3 separate regions of the Homo sapiens genome follow, and all the other regions are linked to region 1. The links are contacts of gene promoters, found by promoter capture Hi-C in blood cells and fetal thymus (Javierre and others, 2016). All regions are on one chromosome and are shown on one strand. Each heading gives the region's core, a stretch centred on a gene start or on the middle of the fragment in contact. The rest is flanking DNA. Distances are from core to core; before and after follow the strand shown.

Region 1 (4,830 bases), core at 1,194-3,693:
AAGTTTTAGCACGTTTTATAATTTATCATATTATAATGTCCAATGTTCTGTTACATAAACGCTACAAAACTTTTGAAATCCGTAATAAAATTCACCCCATTCATTACTTCCCAGCAGATTTTCAGAATATTAGAATAGTGGCATTCTCCTAAACATGATGCTAGAACCAATTCAGAGTCATCCATTCAGATACTCTGCTGAAGTCACAACATACTTTAGAAACCAGAGGAGATACTGCCGCCAAGGGGTTTACAGTGGAGACAAAATGCAGAGTCCTAAGCAATAGAAAAAGAATACTACAATGACTGTGTTACTGTGTTATGTGTCCAGTGACTAGTAAGGGAAAGATGAACTAAAAAAACAGCTAACTGCTGGAAAAATGGAAAGGAAGAGGAACAGTATCCATGAAACTGGATGAAAGTGGCATTTTAAGATTATTCTAGCACCAACATACAAGATGAACTGAAGAATGGAAAAGTGCAAGCAGGCAGCATAGGTGAGAAACTGTTGTAAATCAGGAACAAAGTGTAAGGAAATTAATTAATGTGGTGGAAATGGGAATGGAAAGAAGACACAATGCCATACTTACTAAAAAGAAATAAAGCTAGGTGACGATATGGGGAACAAATAAAAAGCATCAGCTGAAGATTAAAGTTTCAAGTTTAGGTAAGTGGGATAACTGACTTCCATCAAAGCAGAAAGTATGTGATGTCATATTTTTCTAGGGTGGGGTTATAAAGAATATATGGACAAAAGGTCAAAATAAGTATCTTTTAGACAAGCACAGAATTCACTTAAGACAAAGATGGGAAAGATGATCTGGCTACCCTTTCAGAAAAAAAAAAATACAGTCAACTAGAATTCCTCTATTTAACAAATATTTATTATTAACAAATACCTACTATGTCCCAGGTCCTGTGCCAGAGCAGAAATGAAGGTACACATGCGAGTGTACAAGAGCAGGCACTGCTTGACCCTGTCTTATTCACCCTAAGGTCTGGTTTACGGTCAAAGAACATTTCATGCTGTACACTGAGATATGGTGCTTTATTATTGCTACAAACATTTCATATTTTTTTGTCTGTGAGTTCTGCTTTTGAATACTTAAGTGATGATCTCCAGTGTCAATTTCTACATTTAAGCTTAAGGCAATGTGGTGAGTAGAGATAAGAACACAGATACAAAAGAGAAATTTAATTTGGGCATCATCAAATTTCTGCATTCTTAATTACCAATACTGAGACCATAGCAACTTCAACCGTAAAACAGGTTGTATTACAGTCTTCCAAATCGCAATTCAGTCCTACATTTAGATCATACGAAGCTCTGTTTTAACACTGTCCTATAGAAACATACAATTCACTTTATAAGATTCAATCTTATTTTTTGAGAGGAATTGAAAACACAGAATTGTTGCCTGAAAAATCTTTATAACTGTACATCTTTGGATTTAAACACGTACCTGCAAGTTTAAAATTCTGCTCGTTTTTTTTTAAAGAGCCTTCAGCCTGAAACCGGTCACGCTGGGGAGAAAAAGCCATTGGCTCATCCATCTGAATCCCCAAAGACGCCTCCATCACAAGCCAATTGAGATGCAAAATGCCAGCTAAGGGGTTACATCCACAGGGGGAGCAAAGCAGCTGTGAAAATTAGAACACTAGAGAAATTTAGATCACTCGCTAAACCACGCACTAAAAACATGCTACTGCCCCCCAAAGGGGCAAACATTTTCAAACGCACGATGTGTCCAAACCTCCACAGTAGGGCATACTGTGGCCTTGTCTAAGGAATTCCATGTGCTTTATTTTCACCTATCAGAAACACCGGCAGGGGGCTGCAGGGAGAATTTCCCGGCTTGGGCACCCGCGCAGCAGCAGGCGCAGTGGGAAACGGCGAGGCTGCCAGTCCGGCACAGCCAGCGGGACCGCGTGGGGGAGGGGCCGAGCGCCGGGGGCGGTTTGAAGTCAGGAAAAGAACTGAGGGAGAAAACCTTTTCGCCACTGACAGGAAGCGCCAGGAGGCTCGTCCAAGGCCCCAAGCAAGTTGACGGAGAACTGATACGACCCTGGCCACGAGTACTGGGCGGAGGAGGAGAAGGGTGAATGAATGGGAATCCGCCGGCCAGCGCTGGCCGCGAGCTCAGCCGGGAAGGACCGGCTTCCCTCGGGCCAGAGACCGAACCAGATGCTTAGTGCGCAGGCGCGCGACTTTCCCGCCGCAGGTCGGAGGGATCCGAAGGGGGGCGGGAAAAGGAACTGCACGGCGAGAAAACCGAAGTCACGATCCAGAATTCGTTCCTAATCCCTCACAATCCCGCGCCATGGAACAAACCGTCGGAAACTCACGGTTTAAGGGAGTACGACTTCTGTGGCTCCCCAGATGCCTGGGTCGCCGTCTCCAAGAGATCCCCACCTACCGAGTCGATCGGATGCGCCTGCGCAACACTTCCCGCCGCCGCTCTGGTTGCACATGCGCACACTAAAGCCCTCGACCCCGCGGATTCCGCTACTGGGCGTTTGCGCAAGAGGGTGGGGTTTCTTCCCGCCGCCTTGGCCAGCTAGAAGAGCGGTTACGGGAATGAAGCCCGTGGATGATCTTAAAAAACAGGGTGAACCATAAGGCTAAGGGCCCAGCATGATTTCCAGGAAAGAAGCTAGCTCAGAGAAGGAAAAATCTCAGGTGCTGACACATCCCTATATACGTGGCCGGCCGCACAACACATTGGGCACTCCATGGATAAAAGGCACTTTCTTGACTCTGCTTTTATTTCCTTTTCGTTGAGTGCCCTACTTCCCCGTTAAAAACAAGCAGAAAATGTAATTGCTGATTGTTTGTGGCTGTGTTAGTAGAAATTAGCACAGTGGCAGGAAGGCAGTGTATACTATTTACTGAGCCCTTGGCTATGAGGTAGGTGGGTTTTTCTAGGGGCTGGAATCATAGTGAGCAAGATAAACACCATCCCTGTAGGAAGCTAAATTCCAATGAAGCGATGACAATAACGGATGAATAAATGAACAGTATTCTTTCCGGCATTGATTACTACTTGAGGGAAATACTGACCAGGAAGGTGGCATCTAGATGGTCAGGGAAGCCCTCTCAAAGAGACCTGGATGAGAAAGAGCTGGTAGGGAGACTGTTGTCCTGGCAAAGAAAGGATAGGGCAAATGCAGAGAGAAAGAGGAACTTGGTATGTTGCAGGGGCAGGGCAGGAAAGGCCAGTGTGGGGGAAGCATAGTGAGTGAGCCGCAAGATAGTCCCAGATAGATGAAGGTGGAGAGTTAGGCAGAAGCCAGACCAGGGTCCTTGAAAGCCAGGGTAAGAAGTTTAGTGTTTGTTCTGAGTACAATTGGAAGCTATTTGAAAGTTTTAAAGCAAGGGAGTAATATGATCTATCTGTTATGAAGAGAATGGATTGTAGAGGGGCAAGTGTGGAAGCAGAGGAAATAGGATGCACTTTATGTTTAGGAGAAACATAATGGTAGTTTGGACCAGAACAATGGCGGAAGAAATAAAAGAAAGAAGACAATGGGATTTGGTGATTGGCTATGGAAAATGAAGAAAAGGGCATCATCAACAGTGAATCTTAGGTTTTGGGCTAGCATATGTGTGGGTGGTAGTGCCACATAGAAGGGAAGTCTGTGAGGTAATGGTTTTTGATTGAGTGAGGTGGAAGAGAGTAAATCAAGGATTCTAGTGTGGATACCGAGAAAGAGAAAAGCAGACCTTGACATCCAGGAGATGGCCTGGTACTACCAGCTTGGTTTGCTGTTGCTTTGAGCTGGCCTGGCAATCACAGCCAAGCATTGGTATTCTTCTGTTGAACATAAACAATTTCACAGAACATCAGACAAGACAGAGTTGTGACCGTGATAGATCAAGACAAAAGTAAGATCACTCTATAATCATATGTGAACACAGACACAACATCAACATTGCCCAAGCCATAAAAATGATCAAATATCTCCTTATCCTAGCTAATATGAGTGCCTGCTGCTTCTTTACCAATTATAGTTTTAACCTCAGTCTAGTCTTCCTTCCTTCTACATAATACTTATTAAAATACCCAATTATAGAATTATCCTTGCTTCCTTACAGCTTCCAATCCAGGCCAAAGTCCCTCTTTCTTGCACCCTTCCGTAAATCTCCTAACACAAACTCAAATTCTATAACAAGTCCTTTTTAACACCCTCTTCCTAAGACATCCCATGGTTCCCCATGGTGTGCATTCTCACGTACTGAAACAAGCAATACATCCAAGTTGCTCAGCTATAGTTGTGTTCCTGGTGGTCATTATCGGGAGGTCGTTAACAATAATCAAGTCCAAGATATGCAAGTGATGATGTCAAAGAAACAGATGAATATATTGGTCTGGGGTATAGTTCAGGGTGAAGAAATAAACTTGGCAGTTATGAATTTATAGATGAAACCTAGTCTTGGACTATACGATATTATCTAAGCAAAGATTGTAGATGGAGAGTTGGGCTATGATAACTTCCAACATTTCATAGTTGAGCAGAGGAGGAGGAAGAACCAGCAAGAGACTGAGAAGTAGTAGTCTGTGAGGTAAGAAGGTGATGTCATAGAAGTCAAGAGCAGAAAGTTTTACAATTAGAAGAAAGTGGTCAGCTATAGCAAATGCTTCACAGAAGTAGTGAGGATACAGAATTGATCAGAGATAGTCATTAGAGCCTTCAGAAAGAGCAGCTTTGGAGTGAGACAGAAAGACTATATTGAATTTATTGACGAACAAAAGATCTACAAATGGAGACAACTCTTGAGGTTTGGTTTGTTTCTTAGTTTGGTTTCTTGTCTTTATTGGGGGGTAGGGCG
Region 2 (4,830 bases), core at 1,349-3,848, 990 kb before region 1:
TTATCCAAGGTCTCAAAGCTGGTACTAGCAGAACAGAGATTGACAATCACATCTTACTAGCTTTTGAATGCCTGAACTCTTTTTTCCCTTCCTGGTATCATCATGGTGAGAATCAAATGAGGCAAACATAGAAATGTATTCTGGAAATGGGGGTATTGCCCCTCCCTGGGGTTTCAGGATCACCCACTTTTCCCATGCCGTCCCACAAAGGACAGAGATCATAATTGTAAAGCTTTGTGAAAAAATAAACAAGATACTGGTAATATCCTGTTACAATTTTCTTTTTGAAAATGTCTCAGCCAGGCACAGTGGTTCACGCCTGTAATCCCAGCATTTTGGGAGGCTGAGGCAGGAGGATCATTTGAGGCCAGGAGTTTGAGACCAGCCTAGGCAACATAACGAGACTCCATCTCCACTTTTTTTTTTTTAATGTCTCAAATCTTCTGTTGTAGGGAAATTCTGATCTATGAGAGGCTGCTTGAAATAAATGGGCTACTGGCCAAGGCTTGGAAATGTTTGTGGTATGAGAAGGTCAGTTGTTATTTGGCATCGACAGATACATTATTATTGCTATTTAGAAACAATTAGTTTCTAAATATTTGAAACAATTAGTTTCAAATTATTGAAAAGGCAGTAAATGTAAAATTATTCCTTTGGAAAGACCCTATTTATAGAAAATTGTGCCTCAGGTATACATTTTGCTTACCATTAGATCTATTTCAATTCCAAAGGAATATATGGAGGGAGAGGGAGTATTTGTAGCTTCTAAAAATGTTCATGGAGGGGTGGCTTATTCTCTTTGCCCTTAGTTTAATAGAAGCAAGAGGTAGTTTGGAGTAGCAGGAAGTCAGAGATGGGTTCATTGTATCGTTATTTCTAGTCCTAGCTCTTCACTGTCCTTGGCAAGGTTCTTAACCTCTCTGGGTTCCCCTCTTCTTACCTTTCTCCTATTCTTCCCCAAGTGTGGGAGTCACACTTCAACACTATACACCCGGGAGTGTTGTGTTGTTAAAAAGTATTGTTAAATACTTTTTAAACGTGTTGAATACTTGTTAAATACTTTTTAAATGTGTATTTATTTATTTGAGTTAGTACTACATACACATGGTTCAACATGTAAAAGACATAAAGGGAAATTCAGTGCCATCTCCCTCCCACCTGCTCCTTTCTGCGTGTCCCTGTTCCAGTTCTCAGTTTTCTTTTTCAAACTCAGAAATCCCAAGAGTCTGTGAAGGGCAAATGAAAAGCAAAATGACTAGACTAAATCTGAATGAAAGGGATTTATTCTAAGGTGATACTGCTCACTGCTCAAGGTGCTTATCTGCCCCCTTCATGGGCTCCCTCAAGTTTTCTGAGACTTCAAACAGCAACACTCAACTAAACTATAAAATAGTCACAGCACCTTTTCGAGAAATTTTGACTTTGAACTTGCTAATATGCAAAGGAAATAGTCCAACCATTTCTCTAGAACTTGGTTGATAAGAAATTTTATTTTGTCCCATTTATAATTTTATTCTAAAAATTTGTTTTTTTCTGCTATCGAGTAGGAGAGAAGGGAATAAGGGAAAGATTTGTTTTTGCACTACTGTGAGATTTTTATACCTTAGGCCAGGACAAAGCACACAAGAAATAAAATATTAACAAAATGTCCTTAATTTTCCTTTCTGACCAAAATTGCTTGCCTCTGCATTTATATATAAAGAAGGGATGTGTTGAGCAAATGAAGGAGGACAGCTAGGCAGACAAGATTTGCCCAGCGCCTGGCATACAATAGGGGCACAGGTCATTGCTTAACAAAACGTATAATTTATTAATACATGCTCGAAGCACTGCTATACTAACCAAATATTCCCTGCAAAATTTTAAATTTACAGTGCAAAATAAGAATAATTTAAAAACTGTTTCTAGAAAAAGAGCTTTAAGGGCTTCCCCCCCCATAACAATTTAAGATTAACCTAGAACATGGTAGTTATTTTGCAAGAACTGGGGAGCACCACTCTCTTCTCCTTGTGCATGTCTGACATTGGAGGCCTATTGTGCACGAAGTTGTGATCAAAATCCAAGTCAATTCATTTTGAAAAGTAACATGACTACAACATCCATCCACTCCAATGAGCAAAGGGTGTAGGCTTTGAGTATACACAGCAGGCCACACACTATGGGTCATGGCATACAGTCTAGCGTTGGAGGTTGCTGCATTTGTTCATGTATCTATGAGTTAGGTTTTAAGTTTTTTCCCCCTGTTCTATTAATATAATTAATTAGTTAATTAACCCCACTCATTCATTTACTCAGTCCACAGCCTTTTGTTAAGAGCCCGCCTAGGACATAAAGATGAAGATCCAGTGCCTACCCTCATGAAACATAGAATCCGAGCGAAGAAGGCTTACTTTGCAATAGTCATCCAAGTGGTGCTTTTATGGCGCTTTACTGCTCCCGCCAACACCCAGTGCCTGGGTATGACCTCAGGCGGTGGCAGAGCCCGCGTGCGAGGTCCCGCTCTCCCTGGCTTGCCCCGGCAGGGCGGAGTCAGCCTAGCAGCCGCCGGCGCTGCCCCCGCGCGGCCTTTAATTTTGCAGCTCCGACCACCGGAAATTAGTCGAAGGCTGAGCGGACCCGGTCGAGAGCCGGCGAGCTCCGCGCAGGGAGGGTGCGCCCACCGGTCCCGCCGGGCGCCCGCGGGACGCGCCGCCAGGGCCCTCTCCGCCGGGGGCTCGGCGCTCGCCCACCTCTTCCAAATTTAACCATTACCTAAATCCGAAGGGAAATGAGCAAACCTCTCGGATTGGGTGTCAAGGTATTTTCAGCCTCGTTGGGCGTATTTATCCCCAAGTGTTTCCACAACAAGCTATTTCGGGGCCTGCGGGGCAGGTTTCGCTCTGCGGACGCCGTGGCCACTCGCCGGGCTCCAGGCCGGCGGCACCGCGGGCCGGTGATTCACGGTCCCGACCCGGGGGTGGTGCAGCCCTAGGAGGCGGCGGGGTCGGGGGTGGGGGGGGCGGGTGACCGAGGCCTGAGGGGCGGGGAGGGTCCTCGGAGCGGGGCGCCCCCCACCCCTCTCTCGCCAGTCAATCTGTGTCCTCAATCTGTGGCTTCTCTCGCTGCGGAAGTCTCCCTGGAGCCAAGAATAGTTCATTTTCTTTCAAGTCATTTCTAGTGCCTAAGTGTCCGGACCTCCAATTTCCCCCATCCCCTGCCGACCCACAGGGAGAGAACTGGGAGGACTACTAAGGGGCGCGCGGGACGGGCTGGAAAGGCCAGGCCCCCCACCGCCTGGCCACTTGCGCAAAGGAGCGCGCCCGGCCGCCCGACGGGGGTTGGGAGCAGGTCTGGGAGGGCTATGCGAGCGACTCAGTAACGCTCAGGAAGTGAAGCTTGTGGTTTTGGGGGCTGAGCTCGGAAGGAGAATTTTTTTTTTTTTTAAGTCAGAGAGATAGAGCGGTCTCTCCCGAAAGCAAGATTCCGTTTGAAAACTCTCCTAGCGCGGTGCCCGCGCCGTGACTCCGCAGGTAGGTCCGCCGAGCCTGTTCTGCGCCTCCTGCCCTGGTGGGGGCGGCCGCGGGGACTCGCAGAGCACTGGCACTGCGGGGGCGATCAGAGGGCGCGGGCGGTTTCCCACCTGCTGCGGACCGCCGTGCGGGAGCCCAGAGAGCTCCGGCAGCTGGGTTAGGGCGCGACCCGCGCAGTGTGACTGGAAATCTGGAGCTGGGGGCGCGCAGCAGGCGGTCTGGTGGTTCGGCAGGGGAGCCAAATCCACCAGGGAAGGAAACATCTGGTGGGGAGGCGGCGGCAGCTGCGCTCGGGAGGACGCCCCCTTAGCGCCCTCGGCTCCCTCCTTCCTGGGCCCGGACGGTGAGGAGAGGCCTGAGCGCGCGGAGGGGCCGCCCCACCTCCCGCGCCAGCTGCAGCGCGGGGTTGCCTTCCCACGCGCTCGGCCCAGGCCCCGGGGCCCCTATCTCCTCCAAACTCTGTCGCTCCCCACAGGAACCAGCAAAGCGGGCCGGGGTGCGAGAGAGGCGTGGGCTTACAGCCCGGGTGGGGAGGCGGCCTCCGCGTCCGCCTGGTCTCTGGTGGCGCCAGCCCAGACCCAGCTCCGGCGCTGACAGTTACCCCGCCCCCATCTGTCCCGCTCCCAGCCAACGTGGGTCCAAGCTGCAGCGGGACCCTCGGGACAACGCCACTCCGTTTTTCTTTTCTTCCGAGTTTCGTGGCTGTTTAAAGAATTGGGTTTGGGGTTTGTGGCGTCTAATTGTACGGACGAGAAGTGCAGGAAGCGACAAAGCTCTAGCCCTAGGAGCCACCCCGGAGGGAGGCGGATGGCACTCTCACCCCTAGGGGCATTCTGGCGCTTGGGTAGCGGGAAACTTCGCGGGAGCCCCGCGACACGTCCCAGGCGTCTTTTCTCCCAGGTCTATTCCCATTCCTCCGGAGAAGGGGACACAATGGGGCTGGGGATCTGGAGCAGGGGGCCTGCACCCTACAGGGACCAAGGCCTGTAGGACTCGTTTGAGCTGAGAGCGCCAACGGACAGACGTAGACTGTGTGGCCTGCATCTTGCCTAGGAAGCCGAGGGGCTCCTAGTCCGGCAGTGGAAACAGCGCGAAGCCGGAGGACTGCAGGTCCTGCCCCGGCCCAGAGTTCCCAGCACCCTCGTTTCTGAACCAGCCGAGGCCACGGAGAACTGCTGTACTGCAGCTCACGTGTGAACCCGGTCACCATCGCCTTCACCCCGGGAGGAAGGCAGATTCGTTTACTCCAGACCACCTCGACTGTGGGGTACCGCCCCCGGAGCCGGCTGGAGCCTAGCGGCAGGCGCAGCCACGCCCTCCC
Region 3 (4,830 bases), core at 1,364-3,863, 810 kb before region 1:
AATGGAACAGCAAAGCCTAAACGACTGCACATCTGTTTACAGCATGGCTTACTGAATATTTTAAGCCAACTGTTGAAACCTACTGCTCAAAAAAAAAAAAAAGATTCCTTTCCAAATATTACTGATTATTAACAATGTACCTAGCCACCCAAGAACTCTGATGCAAATGTACAAGATTAGTGTTGTTTTCATGCCTGCTAACACAATATCCATTCTGCAGCCCATGGGTCAAGGAGTAATTTCAACTTTCAAGTCTTAAGACATACATTTCCTAAAGGTATAGTTGCCATAGAGTGATTCCTCTGATGGATTTGGGCAAAGTAAATAGAAATCCTTCACGAAAGGATTCACCATTCTAGATGTCATTAAGAACATTTGGGAGTGGGCACAGTGGCTCATGCCTGTAATCCCAACACTTTGGGAAGCCAAGGTGCGTGGATTACTTGGGGCCAGGAGTTCGAGACCAGCCTGGCCAACATGGCAAAACCCCCATCTCTACTAAAAATACAAAAATAAGCCGGGTGTGGTGGCGCATGCCTGTGGTCCCAGCTACTTGGGAGGCTGAGGCATGAGAATCGCTTGAGCCTGGGAGGTAGAGGTTGCAGTGAGCTGAGATTTCGCCACTGAACTGAGGAGGCAGAGGTTGTAGTGAGCCAAGATCGCGCCACTGCACTCCAGCCTGGGTGACAGAGTGAGACTCTGTCTGAAAAAAAGAAAAAAGGAAAAAAAAAAAAAGAACATTTGGGATTCATGGGAGGAGGCCAAAATATCAACATTAACAAGTGCTTGGAAGAAGTTGATTGTAACCCTAATGGATGACTTTGAGGGGTTCAAGACTTCCGTAGAGGTAGTCACTATGGATATGGTGGAAATAGCAAGATAAGAATTAGAAGTGGAGCTTGAAGATGTGACTGAATTGCATCAATCTCATAATCCAACTTGAACGGATATACAGCTGCTTCTTATGGATAGGCAAAGAAACTGGTTTCTTGAGATGGAATCTACTCCTGATGAAGGTGCTGTCAACATCGTTGAAATGGTAACACAAGATTTAGAATATTCCATAAACTTAGCTGATAAGCAGCAATGAAGTTTGAGAGGACTGACTTCAATTTTTTTTTTTTTTTGAGACACGGTCTTGCTCTGTTGCCAAGGCTGGAGTGCAGTGGTGTGATCTAACTCACTGCAACCATGAACTCCTATGCTCAAGTGATCTTCTAGTCTCAGCATCCCAAGTAGCTACAAGGACTACAGTTGTGTGCCACCACACCCAGCTAATTTTTTATTTTTTAAATACTTTGTAGAGATGGGTCCCTCTATGTTGCCCAGGCTGGTCTCAAATGTCTTGTTTAAGTGATCCTCCTGCCTTGCCCCGCAACAATGCTGGGATTACAGGCATAAGTCACTGCTCCTGGCCGGACTCCAATTTTGAAAGATGTTCTGCTGTGGGTAAAATGCTATCAAACAGCATCTAATGCTACAGAGAAATCTTTAGTGAAAGGAAGTCGATCAGTGCAGCAAACCTGGGGTTGTCTTATTTCAACAAATTACCACAGCCATCCCAACCTATAGACACCACCACCCTGATCAGTTAGCAGCCATCCACATCAAAACAGGACCCTTCACCAGCAAAAAGATTAATACTTGCTGAAGGCTCAGATGATCAGTAGCATCTTTAAGCAATAAAATATTTTAAAATTAAGGTATGTACATTATTTTTTAAAGATATAACGCTACTGCACATTTAAAAGACTACAGTATAGTGGAAACATAACTTTTGCATACACTGGGAAACAAAATCCATGATTGCTTTATTGCTTTAGTATAGTGGTGGTCTGGAACCAAACCTGCAATATCTCCAAGATATGCCTGTACTTACTGGCTTTCACAATAATGTAAGAAAGACCAAATTAGGTCAAATTCAATATTCTGTTTCCAAATGGTGTGTAAGGTCATGGCATCCTCAGTGATGCCAAGTTCAAATTGTTCAGGACATGCTCTAAAACATGCCTGGTTTTTCTTCATAATTTAAAAGCTTTGATCTACATTTTATCAGCCTTCACTTTTACAGACTAAAGAGATCAAATTATTAAAGTCAGTAACTTTATTCAAAATTATTGAGACAGACCTTTCTACAAGGTAGTATAAGTTTCTCTAGTCTTAAGCAGATAATTTTAATTTTCATCATTTTAATAAATATTTCCTTATGTAGAAAACTTTCTCTATAGTAGCAATGACTAATGACACAATTGGCTTAGAACTGTAAATCATTAGAACCAAAGGGAACTCGGAAGTTGAATGCAACTTTTTCCTTTTACAAATGAGGAAACTGAGACTTAGTGTTGAGAAGCAGGTTTCCTACAGTAAAACAACCAAAAACGTGAGCTAAATCCAACAAAACAGCGCTCTTCAAACTGCAGATCAGGACCAATCAATTAAGTAGGTTGCTGCCAGCATTTTAAAAAAGCAACAGAGTAGAAAATATCAGAGGCATTTCATGTAGTAAGAATAATATTGTTTCACAGAAGTTTTGCTTTAGTTTTAGTTATATGCATATATGAGATAATGTAAAATGCACTTATTATAGTGGTCGAAAGTTTGGAAGTCATTTCAATAAGATATCTAATCTTTTGGGTGGATTTAACAATTTATTCTTAGTCTCGTTCTGTTGCCCAGGCTGGAGCGCAATGGTGTGATCTCGGCTCACTGCAACCTCTGCCTCCCAGGTTCAAGCGGTTCTTCTTACTCAGCCTCCCAAGTAGCTGGGGCTACAGGCATGTTCCAGCACTCCTGGCTAATTTTTATATTTTTAGTAGAGATAGGGTTTTGTCATGTTGGCCAGGCTGATCTTGAACTCCTGACCTCAGGTGATCCACCAGTCTCGGCCTCCCAAATGCTGGGATTACGGGCGTGAGTCACCACACCTGGCCATAAAAATTTATTATTATTTTAAAATTATGATTATTAAAATTACTATTATGATGCAATTTATTCTTTATCATGACTCATTGTAAGCTAATAAAAATATCTCTGCATTAAATACTACATGCCACCATTTAAAAGAAGCAATTTTTTCCTCCCTAAAGGAAGACTGACTCAGGATATTGTATCCCATGCCATATGTAAACAGACATTCTTTAAAATATCACATTTCTGTAGAGCTTAAATGTGCAATAGCTAGACAAGCTTTTAAAAATACAAAATTCTAGAATTCTGATCCTTGGCACAGGTAAAAAGATGTCTGAAAAAACAGTGACCTCTAGTGGATTCATTAAATAGCATGGACATAATCCCTGCCCCTAAGAATTTGGAAATTAAGGTAACACAAATGCATCCAGATATAAAAGATACTGATATGGTTATACACTGACAAGTGTTATATATAATTAAGGGCTACAGTTATGCTATACAATGAGGCAGATGCATATATATAGATTATTCACTGTTTCCTTCTAATCAAGTGGAATATAATAAATAGAATCCTGGTCTCATACGGATCACTAGTTTAAGAAATACACTTAATGAAGGGGTTGGATTAAATCTCTCTAAGGACCCTTTTAGCTCTTTTAATTATGATTCTTCTTTAATTCATTTTGTACACCAATATCAGAATAAATTCTGCTCAAAAACATTTGATGGCTCCCCAATACTTGAGGGTTTACCACACTCAGCCTGGCCCTTTGTTATTTACCTATTGTTATCTTCTCGTTTCCCAAATTTCAAGTGGGCCAATGTTCAATATCCCAACCCATTCCCACAAGTTTATTTTCTCACTTTTGCTCACAGTTTCTCATTATGCAATGTCCTAACCTTGCTAATTTATAGGACAGGTCCCCATTAAAGTCAACACAAACTTGTTTAATTCATGTTCTGGCATCCAGTGATTGTTAAATTCACAGGTTGGGTTTTATACTTGTATATGTGTATGTGTATGTGTATGTGTATGTGTATGTGTATGTGTATGTATATGTATATGTGTATGTGTATGTGTATGTGTATGTGTATGTGTGTAGCCTGCCAGGTACTAAGCACTTACTGCACAATTTAAATGTAAATTAAGTTGATTCATTTAGATTAGAGAAACAAAGTCCATTTTTTTTTTTTTGAGATGGAGTCTTGCTCTGTCACCAGGCTGGAGTGCAGTGGCACGATCTCAGCTCACTGCAACCTCCGCCTCCCAGGTTCAAGCAATTCTCCTACCTCAGCCTCCTGAGTAGCTGAGACTACAGGCATGTGTCACCACGTCCAGCTAATTTTTGTATTTTTAGTAGAGACAGGGTTTCACCATGTTGGCCAGGATGGTCTCGATCTCTTGACCTTGTGATCTGCCCCCCTCGGCCTCCCAAAGTGCTGGGATTACAGGTGTAAGCCACCACGCCCGGCACAAAGGACATTTTCATCTTTCTTTTTTAGTGAGGTAGTGAAGGGTATATAGCTAAGGTAGAATTTCAAGAACTGCAAATATAAAGTAAAAGGGCTTCAAGTTTTGGGAAACAGTGAGCATTCTGAATAGAGGATGGTGAGATTTTAGGAAAAGGTTACAGGAAGACCTGTTTTACTTCATTTTATTTATTTATTTAATTTTTGAGACAGAATCTCACTCTGTGGCCCAGGCTAGAGTTCAGCAGCACGATCTTGGCTCACTGCAACCTCCGCCTCCCAGGTTCAAGTGATTCTCCTGCCTCAGCCTCCTGAGTAGCTGGGATTACAGGTGCCCGCCACCATACCCAATTAATTTTTGTATTTTTAGTAGAGACAGGGTATCACCATATTGGCTAAGCTGGTCTCAAATTCCTAAACTCAAGTGATCCACCCACCTTGGCTTCTCAA

What was found. The method cuts DNA at HindIII sites, captures the fragments that hold promoters and counts their contacts. A CHiCAGO score of 5 or more calls a contact.
Region 2: a contact is called between the fragment with the promoter of GFI1 here and the fragment with the promoter of CDC7 in region 1, in 3 of 17 cell types (fetal thymus, total CD4 T cells and naive CD8 T cells). The highest score is 8.5, in fetal thymus.
Region 3: a contact is called between a fragment that was not itself captured here and the fragment with the promoter of CDC7 in region 1, in 2 of 17 cell types (fetal thymus and total CD4 T cells). The highest score is 6.7, in fetal thymus.

Annotation. Positions count from the first base shown.
Region 1 is chr1:91,498,464-91,503,293 of GRCh38, reverse strand. It overlaps CDC7 (cell division cycle 7), which reads right to left and starts at 2,443. Exons shown (of 12, transcript NM_003503.4): 1 at 2,346-2,443; 2 at 1,463-1,640. The coding sequence starts at 1,577. LOC105378856 (a long non-coding RNA gene) reads left to right here and starts at 2,446. Exons shown (of 3, transcript XR_947599.4): 1 at 2,446-4,779. RefSeq lists an enhancer at 1,602-1,801. The HindIII fragment of the contact is 5,865 bases long and covers 1,145-4,830 here.
Region 2 is chr1:92,484,693-92,489,522 of GRCh38, reverse strand. It overlaps GFI1 (growth factor independent 1 transcriptional repressor), which reads left to right and starts at 2,598. Exons shown (of 7, transcript NM_005263.5): 1 at 2,598-2,797. RefSeq lists enhancers at 2,392-2,441, 3,342-3,491, 3,414-4,014, 4,615-4,830 and silencers at 2,562-2,771, 2,862-2,971, 3,592-3,641, 3,842-4,021. The HindIII fragment of the contact is 3,142 bases long and covers 235-3,376 here.
Region 3 is chr1:92,308,716-92,313,545 of GRCh38, reverse strand. All of the region lies in intron 6 of RPAP2 (RNA polymerase II associated protein 2), which reads right to left. It also overlaps a transcript of GLMN not described here. Among named protein-coding and RNA genes, the nearest start is that of RPAP2, 12 kb to the right of the region's middle. The HindIII fragment of the contact is 1,151 bases long and covers 2,038-3,188 here.